Linked DNA regions of Homo sapiens: region 1 is linked to region 2. Evidence: promoter capture Hi-C in 16 types of primary human blood cells and fetal thymus (Javierre and others, 2016). All regions are on one chromosome and are shown on one strand. Each heading gives the region's core, a stretch centred on a gene start or on the middle of the fragment in contact. The rest is flanking DNA. Distances are from core to core; before and after follow the strand shown. Region 1 overlaps BECN1 (beclin 1). Region 2 holds the start of RAMP2 (receptor activity modifying protein 2).

The links. Contacts are between HindIII fragments. The CHiCAGO score rates a contact against its expected background, and 5 or more counts as called.
Region 1: a fragment that was not itself captured here is called in contact with the fragment with the promoter of RAMP2 in region 2 in 1 of 17 cell types (endothelial precursors); the score reaches 6.6 in endothelial precursors.

What each region holds. Positions count from the first base shown.
Region 1 is chr17:42,814,401-42,818,860 of GRCh38, forward strand. It overlaps BECN1 (beclin 1), which reads right to left. Exons shown (of 12, transcript NM_001313998.2): 5 at 4,387-4,460; 6 at 4,144-4,280; 7 at 3,821-4,015; 8 at 1,508-1,654; 9 at 124-273. Among named protein-coding and RNA genes, the nearest start is that of MIR6781, 7.3 kb to the right of the region's middle. RefSeq lists an enhancer at 3,380-4,460. The HindIII fragment of the contact is 505 bases long and covers 2,959-3,463 here.
Region 2 is chr17:42,759,865-42,764,459 of GRCh38, forward strand. RAMP2 (receptor activity modifying protein 2) reads left to right here and starts at 1,363. Exons shown (of 4, transcript NM_005854.3): 1 at 1,363-1,494; 2 at 1,970-2,035; 3 at 2,491-2,599; 4 at 2,733-3,177. The coding sequence starts at 1,398. The coding sequence ends at 2,988. It overlaps RAMP2-AS1 (RAMP2 antisense RNA 1), which reads right to left and starts at 1,393. Exons shown (of 6, transcript NR_024462.1): 1 at 1,016-1,393; 2 at 771-847; 3 at 562-649; 4 at 1-16. RefSeq lists a silencer at 1,477-1,566. The HindIII fragment of the contact is 18,952 bases long and covers 1-4,595 here.

The DNA of each region.
Region 1 (4,460 bases), core at 1,961-4,460, 56 kb after region 2:
GCCACAGAAAACTCCCAGTCTGTGGGCAGCAAGGGCTCCTGACATGGTGGACAGCAGTACCAGGTTGGAGATACAAATTATATCAATGCACATCACTCCCCAAGAAAGGGCTACACTTCCTACCTCTGAAATTTCAGACCCATCTTATTGGCCAGAGCATGGAGCAGCAACACAGTCTGGCCCCAAGCAGCATTAATCTCATTCCATTCCACGGGAACACTGGGCAGGCGACCCAGCCTGAAGTTATTGATTGTGCCAAACTGTCCACTGTGCCTACAGAGGAAGGCAGAAAGGTGGGGGGAAATACAGGGATTACTTAAAAAGTTTGACATTTCCCACTCTCACCCCAAACCTAGCTTAAATCTATCTTCAAGTCCATATATGCAAGCTGTACTTGGCACTTTAAATACATGTCCAAAACTTGAGTCATCATCTTTTTCCCTGCTGCTCAGATGCCAAAGCAGAAACCTGGGTGGTATCCTTGAATGCTCCCTCAGCTCCTTCCGTGCAAAACTGCCAACCTCTCCTGATTCTACCTGCTAAATATCTTGGATCTTTCCACTTTTCTCCAAATTCAATGCTACTATTCTTTTCCTTTAGATTCCTACTGATGAGTATCCTTTCCAACGATTCCACCCCTTTACCCCAAGTCATTCCCCATGGTGCAGGAAAAGCCATCATTCACGAATACAAGTGTAATTACGTCACTTCCCTAGCTAAAATGCTTCAGTGTCTCCTCTGCCTTTTGGATGAAGTCCAAACCTCTTAACGAGGCCTACGAGATCCTTCAGGAACTGGTAACTCTCCAGTTTCATATCCGGCCACTCTCCCCTTTACACTCAATCTTCAGTCACAATAAGCTCCTTTCTGTTCTCTGAATTCACCACTCCCTCTTTCCCATTTCTTTGCACATAATGTTCTCTCTGCTAGGAACAACCCCCTCTCTGCAGACTTCTACTTTACCTCTCAGTTTAAACGTAAGTCCCCTATGGGGAAACTCTCCATATGGCCTCCCCAAACTGGATCAAGTGCCCTTATGTGTTCCCACAGCACCCTGGGTTTACCATCATCACACTGCATTACAACTGCTTGTTATTTATCCATCTCTTCCACCAGATTATATGCAACTAGAAGGTTGACTGCATACTGTTTTGCTGTTGCCCTCCTAGCACTCAGCACAGTGCCTTTTCCAGAGTAGACACTCAACAGTTATTAAATTAATGGAACATCAAACACCGTGGGGATAAGAAATCAGCACCAGACAGCTTACCAGGTTTTTAAGTGGCTGAAGGGCTCAGGCCTTTTCCTTTCTTTAGAAGGGCGGATGTCACCAAGCTCTAGAATTCCAATCCCTACTGTGCCTATCCCATCACTATGAATGAAAGAAACCTAGTTGGGTGAAGATAACCTACAGTCCCTCTTTTGTGGGAAGTGGGCACCCAGGCTTAGTGGTCAACAGCTAAGGTCTAGATATGTGCAGTGCTCCTCATCCCCTAGCTCTCATTACCAGATGTGGAAGGTTGCATTAAAGACGTTGGTTTTCTTCAGCTTATCCAGCTGCGTCTGGGCATAACGCATCTGGTTTTCAACACTCTTCAGCTCATCATCCAGCTCCAGCTGCTGTCGTTTAAATTCACTGTATTCTCTCTGATACCTGTGAGCAGCCAAGGGGGCCATTGAAGGCTGTTAGCTTGGGGGCTAAAGTTTCTCTCTCACCACACTATGAACGATTCTTTAGTGATCATCGTTACATCTAGCTCTCGCATCTTTTATATTTGGCATAGATCCCATTCTGAGGAACATGTATGTCCTAGCTGTTTTGCCTGGAAGGAACAGAAATGTCTCAAATTCCAGCTGCCCATATGCAAAAAGGTGGAGGAAAAAAGAATTCTCCCAAACCAGGGCAAAAAACCTCTTATTTCTGATCTTTTTCAGAAGTGAGGTGAATGGGTTAGGAGTGGCTTCTTGGGGCCAGGCGTGGTGGCTCACACCTGTAATCCCAGCACTTTGGGAGGCCAAGACGGGTGGATAACTTGAGGTCAGGAGTTCGAGAGCAGTCCGGCCAATGTGGTGAAACCCTGTCTCTACTAAAAATACAAAAATTAGCCAGGCGTGGTGGTGCACACCTGTAGTCCCAGCTACTTGGGAGGCTGAAGTGGCAGAATTGCTTCAACCCAGGAGGCAGAGGTTGCAGTGAGCTATCACACCACTGTACTCCAGACTGGGCAACAGAGCCGAGACTCTGTCTCAAAAAAAAAAAAAAAAAAGAGTGGCTTCTGCTTCTTCTGGGCCGGGTGCAGTGGCTCACACCTGTAATCCCAGCACTTTGGGAGGCTGAGGTGGGCAGATCACCTGAGGTCAGGAGTTAGATGCCAGCCTGGCCAACATGGTGAAATTCCGTCTCTACTAAAAAAATAAAATTAGCCAGGCGTGGTGGCGCACGCCTGTAGTCCCAGCTACTTGGGAGGCTGAGGTAGGAGAATCGCTTGAACCTGGGAGGTGGAGGTTGCAGACAACTGAGATCATGCCACTGCACTCCAGCCTAGGCAACAGAGTGAGACTCTGTCTCAAAAAAAAACCAAAATCAAAAACAAAAAACAGTGGCTTTTTCCAGCTGGCCATGGTGGCTTATGCCTGTAAACCCAGCACTTTGGGAGGCTGAGGCAGGTGGATCACTTGAGCTCAAGAGTTCAAGACCAGCCTGGGCAACATGGGGAAACTCCATCTCTATAAAAAATACAAAAATTAGCCAGGTATGGTGTTGCGCGCCTGTAGTTCCAGCTACTTGGGAGGCTGAGGCGGGAGGATTGCTTAGGTGTAGGAAGTCAAGGCCGCAGTGAGTCATGACTGCACCACTGCACTCCAGCCTGGATGACAGAGTAAGACTCTGTTTCTAAAAAAAAAAAAAACAAAAAAACAGTGGCTTCTTCCATGAACTGGCCATAATTGGCCTTCTAAAGCTTCATTTCTATACACTTACTGTCCTTTAAATAGTTACTATACCCCACTTCCAGTGAAACTTGTTATACTACTGTGTGAAAAAAATGGACTTTTCTCTATCCTTCATTTCCACAACTTCAGTTAGTATGGACACTGTGTGTCCTCCACTAGAGAGAGGGTTCTCTCAGGTCAAGGACATCTATAATGTTTTTATTTTTTGAGACAGGGTCTCAACTCTGTTGCCCAAGCTGGAGTGCAGAGGTGTGATCACAGCACACTGTAACCTCAAACTCCTGGGCTCAAGTTATCCTCCACTTCAGCCTCCTAAGTAGTTGCTAGGACTACAGGTCTACCACAGCAGCCTAATTTTTTTTTAATTTTCATTTTTGTAGAGATGGGGTCTCACTTGATATTGCCCCAGATGGCCTTAAATCCTGGCTTTAAGTGATCCTTCTGCCTTGGCCTCCCAAAGTGCTGGAATTACAGATATGAACGACCATACCTGGCCCCCATGAAATGTTTAAGCTTGGAGGGAACAAATGTAGGCTAATTAGCTCATCTTTTCAGCTAAGGATGGCTAGAAAGTGGCTGATTCATCCAAATGAGCCCATTCCCTACAGGACAGAGCCAAGACTGGAGCTCTGGTTTCTGCACTATTTAACCAACATACTTTTTTCACTTAATCATGCTGACTCTTCATAGGTAACTCTCCCAACAAACCTCTAGAAAAAGGGCATGGAAGCAATATGCAGGATCTGGGGCAGGCATGCTGCTGACTGACAGCTGACTAGTTTACAAACTATTCAGACACATTCAGCTGGAAGCCATTTCCTCTCCTGGAGCCTCGAGTGTGAGAAGATAGAACAGGGTGAGCACTCACTGAGCTTCCTCCTGATCCAGTCTCTCAGCCTCAGCCTGGACCTTCTCGAGATTTTCTGCCACTATCTTGCGGTTCTTTTCCACGTCTTCCAGCTCCTGGATCAGCCTCTCCTCCTCTAGTGCCAGCTCCTTTAGCTCCATCTGTAACTGTTCACTGTCATCCTCATTCATTTGCTCTAAGATCTCCAAACAGCGTCTGCCAAAGACACAGGCAGACTATACTTACTAGAGCTCCATTTGCCTGAGTGGAGTACGGCTCTTGGGTAAGGGCCAAGCAGTCTCAGAGCAGTAACAGCTCTGAGCCCTGGCTCTGGAGACACTCACTTGTAGTTCTGACACTCATTTTCAGTGACGTTGAGCTGAGTGTCCAGCTGGTCTAAAAGAGTATCTGTGCATTCCTCACAGAGTGGGTGATCCACATCTGTCTGGCCCGACATGATGTCAAAAAGGTCCCCAGTGACCTGGAAGTGTGGGAGAGTCAGGGTAGGGCCTCCCCCATGCTTCCTGCTCAATTACCCACTCTCCCAGCCAGGCCTACTGCTTGCCACCGGAATGGGGCCGACTTGCCTTCAGTCTTCGGCTGAGGTTCTCCATGGTGCCGCCATCAGATGCCTCCCCAATCAGAGTGAAGCTGTTGGCAC
Region 2 (4,595 bases), core at 113-2,612:
GATCCTGAGATGAAGACTTCAGGAGAGATCAGGACAGATAATTTGTGGTGGGCAGGAATCAGTAAACTGGGACAACAGCAGCAGCTGAGTCCAAGGGTCAGTGTCTGGGAGTAATTTAGGAAAGTTTGGTGCTGACAGCTGTGTCTGGGACTTGAACGTCATGGCCAAACCAGCTCCTGGGCTCCTCAGCTGCTTCAGACTAATGAACCTCTGGCCCAGGACACAAGAAGCAGCTGTGGTGTGGCTGAAGTCAGGACCCCCGGAGGCCCAGACTCAGCCTTGCTGCTTCCTTAACAGTGTGACCTTAGATAAGTCACTTAGGAAAAGAGGAAAGGAAACTAGCATTTAGCGAGTGCAGTGCCCTTTCACAGCTGCCATCATACAGTGAGGAGGGGAATGTCCCTATTTCACATGAGAAGTCCTGAAGGTAAACGTGTCATTCAAGGCTCTATAGCTGGGGAGTAAGAAGACAGAATTAGAACCCAGAGCTTCTGAATTCAAATCCCGGGCTGTTGGCCCTGAGCTTTAGCTTCTCGGTCTGTAAAATGGTGTTACACTCACCTGGCACATGAAGTCGCACACTGAAGGTTCTAAAACCCCTCCATTCTTTCTCCCAACCGTGGTCCTGAAGAGCTGTGGCACCTTCTTCCTGGGAACGTAGTCATCGTATTTTGCCCTCCCCACAACAGGTTTGTGGGGTCTAGGCCCCAGGAGGTGTCTGAAGGGAAGGTATTTGGACTTTGCTTTCCCCTCTACCCCACTCCCCAGACCTTCTCCCGACTCCAGAGGGCTGGCTCCCGCTTCTCCTCCCTGGTTTTGGCTGGCGGACTGACATCAGCTGGTATTCCTAGGGATAGGATAAGGAACCCTGAGCTGCATGGCTCAGCTCCAGGCGCCCCTTCCCCCACAACCCAGGACAGCCCCTTAGAAGCAGCGGCGTCGAGAGGCCGCTGGAGCTCCCAGCCCCCTCCCTCTTCTCCACGTCTGGGAGAGCAGCTTGCCGACCCCTCCAGACCCGAAAGAGAGAGGGGGCGACTCGAATTCGGGGAGCGATCCTGGGAGACCCTGGAGAGTCCTGGGCGCCACGCAGCCGAGCCCCCGAAATAGATCCCGGTTCCGGGGTTCCGGGAGCTGTCCAGCCTCGCGGGGTGAGCTACGAGAGGGTGGGCCAACGCCGGCGAGGCGGAGGGAGCCGCGGGCGCCAGGCGCGGGTGAGGCAGCGACTCCCCCTCCAGCCGCGGGCCCCGAGCGTCGCCCCCGCCCCCCACGTGGCCGCCGCCGTCCCAGCCCCTCCGAGGAAGCGGCGCGGCTTCCTGCAGCTTGGGCTGGGGATATAGGCGCCCCCACACCCGGGCCCGGCTCAGCGCCGCCGCCGCTCCTCGCCTCCTTGCTGCACGATGGCCTCGCTCCGGGTGGAGCGCGCCGGCGGCCCGCGTCTCCCTAGGACCCGAGTCGGGCGGCCGGCAGCGCTCCGCCTCCTCCTCCTGCTGGGCGGTGAGCGCGGCGCCCCGAGGCCCGGGCGGGAGGCGCGAGAGGCCCCGGAGGGGAGAGGGGAGAGGGGAGAGGGGCTGGATGGCCGAGGCCGGAACGGGCCCTGGGGTGCGGGTTAGGACCGACGTACCTAGCAGCACTGGCCCTCGGACGGTCCCTGACCCCACCTCGGGGCGGGCGCAGCATGAGCTGCTTCCCACCCAGGGAAAGCTGGGGTGCTGGCCCCGGCCCCTCGAAGAGGGCTTAGGAGGACGGAAGCTGGCCAGAGATGAGGGGGCTTTGGGCCTGGGTGTGAGTGACAAGGAGCTGGTGCCAGCCCCTCCCTCCCCGGCACTGAGGCGTCCGTGGGGGCTAGATTATTCCTCCTTTTCTTCCAAGGTAGCCTATTTTCGGAGGGTCTCAGTCCCCCAACCCCCCTCGCAGGCTCCACTGCCGGGGTCCCCGCTATGTTACCCTCCTCTCCCGTTTCTTCCCACAGCTGTCCTGAATCCCCACGAGGCCCTGGCTCAGCCTCTTCCCACCACAGGCACACCAGGGTCAGAAGGTGGGTACCCAGGGTGTGGAAGGGTGGCCGAGGGTAAGGACGAGAGCAAGTTCAGTGGGGAGGGTTCCTTTCCCACGAGGCCTGCCCAACCCCAGCTGATGCCCCACTACACTCCCCTCTGTTCTTTCTTGGGGTTCCTCGTGGTCTTTCTCCCTGTCCTCCTACAAAGCCCCTGCACGGCTCTGAGCTGCCCACCTCACAAGTGGGCGAGAAGACCCCAGGAAAAGGTGTACGTGGAAGTTCTTATCAGGCTGGGATGGAAAGTGCTTAGCACATGGAAGTCATTATAGGATTCCTGAGCTGGGACTCTGTCCTCAGCCAGAATGTTTTGCTAGGGAAACTTTCTGAAGGGTTCCCACGTTTGAAGACAGGCAGTTCACCTTGCAAGCACCTGGGCAGGAGGGTTTGTAGGGAGGGGTAGGGGTGTGGTCATTGTGTAGCATCTGTACCTACAGGGGGGACGGTGAAGAACTATGAGACAGCTGTCCAATTTTGCTGGAATCATTATAAGGATCAAATGGATCCTATCGAAAAGGATTGGTGCGACTGGGCCATGATTAGCAGGTAGGGGCAGTGATGGAGGGTGGCTCAGGCCAGGGGGTGGACCTGCTCATTGCAGGTAGACCCTGAGTGAGAGTGGGGCACTCTTCTCCCTGGGTCCACCCCCTCTCTCACTCAAGTCCTCTTCTGCCCCTAGGCCTTATAGCACCCTGCGAGATTGCCTGGAGCACTTTGCAGAGTTGTTTGACCTGGGCTTCCCCAATCCCTTGGCAGAGAGGATCATCTTTGAGACTCACCAGATCCACTTTGCCAACTGCTCCCTGGTGCAGCCCACCTTCTCTGACCCCCCAGAGGATGTACTCCTGGCCATGATCATAGCCCCCATCTGCCTCATCCCCTTCCTCATCACTCTTGTAGTATGGAGGAGTAAAGACAGTGAGGCCCAGGCCTAGGGGGCCACGAGCTTCTCAACAACCATGTTACTCCACTTCCCCACCCCCACCAGGCCTCCCTCCTCCCCTCCTACTCCCTTTTCTCACTCTCATCCCCACCACAGATCCCTGGATTGCTGGGAATGGAAGCCAGGTGGGGTCATGGCACAAGTTCTGTAATCTTCAAAATAAAACTTTTTTTTTGTACAATGTCCTTCTCCCCATTTCAGTGGAACCTGTGTCCTTCCCTGCCACTGCCACAGGCCCTCAGCCCTGGGTAGTAGAACTGGAAAAATCTGGATGGCCCATTGTTCTGTTCATTTCACCTGCCCCCCTGCTCCCTGCCTCCATGAAGGTCACACCCCTATATTCTTTCCTCCCAGGCGGGCCTTTCCTGCCTATATCCAAACTCGGCTCCAGGAAACAAGCAGGAAGAGACTCCCTTCCGGTCTGGACAGCAGCTGGGGGCCTGCAACTGGGGAGGTGTGGGGGAAGGGGCAAGGGAGGAATCTCTGCTTGTGACTCCTGCAAGAGGAGCAGGAGGCTGCCCAGGAGCCCTGACTATTCCTCTTCTTCATGCTTCAGTTTACTCACAGGGCCTGGGAAGAGGAACCCTGACTGAGCAACAGGAATCCATTCCTAAGGCCCTCACAATTGAGGGAGAAAGCAGTGGGGGCTTCCTTTACTAGGTTCACCACCCCTCTCCATGTCCCTTGCCCTCATCCTACATTGTCCTGGACTGGGTGTGGCCTGCAGCCTAGCAACACACTGCCCCCTGGTGTCCACTAAAGCCAGCAACCAGAAGACGTATCTGATCTGGAAGAAGCTCAAGGCTGAGGAGCACTGGACCCTGGGGTCAGAAAACTGCCATCTCTACAGCAATCACTAGTTCCTTGTTTGTTTGTTTGTTTGTTTGTTTGTTGAAACAAGGTCTCATTCTGTCACCCAGGCTGGAGTTCAGTGGCACAAACATGGCTCACTGCAGCCTCGACCTCCTGGGCTCAAGGATCCTCCCATCTCAGACTTCCAAGTAGCTGGGACCACAGGCGTGAGCCACCATGCCCAGCTAATTTTTTTTTTTTTTTTTTTTTTTTGAGATGGAGTCTTGCTCCGTCACCCAGGCTGGAGGGCAGTGGCATGCTCTCGGCTAACTGCAAACTCTGCCTCCTGGTTCATGCCATTCTCCTGCCTCAGCCTCCAGAGTAGTTGGGACTACAGGTGCTCGCCACCACGCCCGGCTAATTTTTTGTATTTTTGGTAGAGACAGGGTTTCACTGTGTTATCCAGGATGATCTCGATCTCCTGACCTCATGATCCACCCACCTCGGCCTCCCAAAGTGCTGGGATTACAGGCACGAGCCACCACACCCGGCCTAATTTTTTTTTTAAGTTTTTTTATACAGATGGGGTCTCACCGTGTTGCCCAGGCTAGTCTTGAACTCCTGGCCTCAAGTGCTCCTCCCCAGTCAGTCTCCCAAAGTGCTGGGATTACAAGCATGAGCCTGCTGTGCCTGCACAACCACTAGTTCTTAGCTGGACCCCGCTATCAGCTTCCTGAGACAAACAACACTCTCTTCAGATACCTTCCTACTTTCTAGGATCATACCCAGCCCCTCTCTACAAGTCAC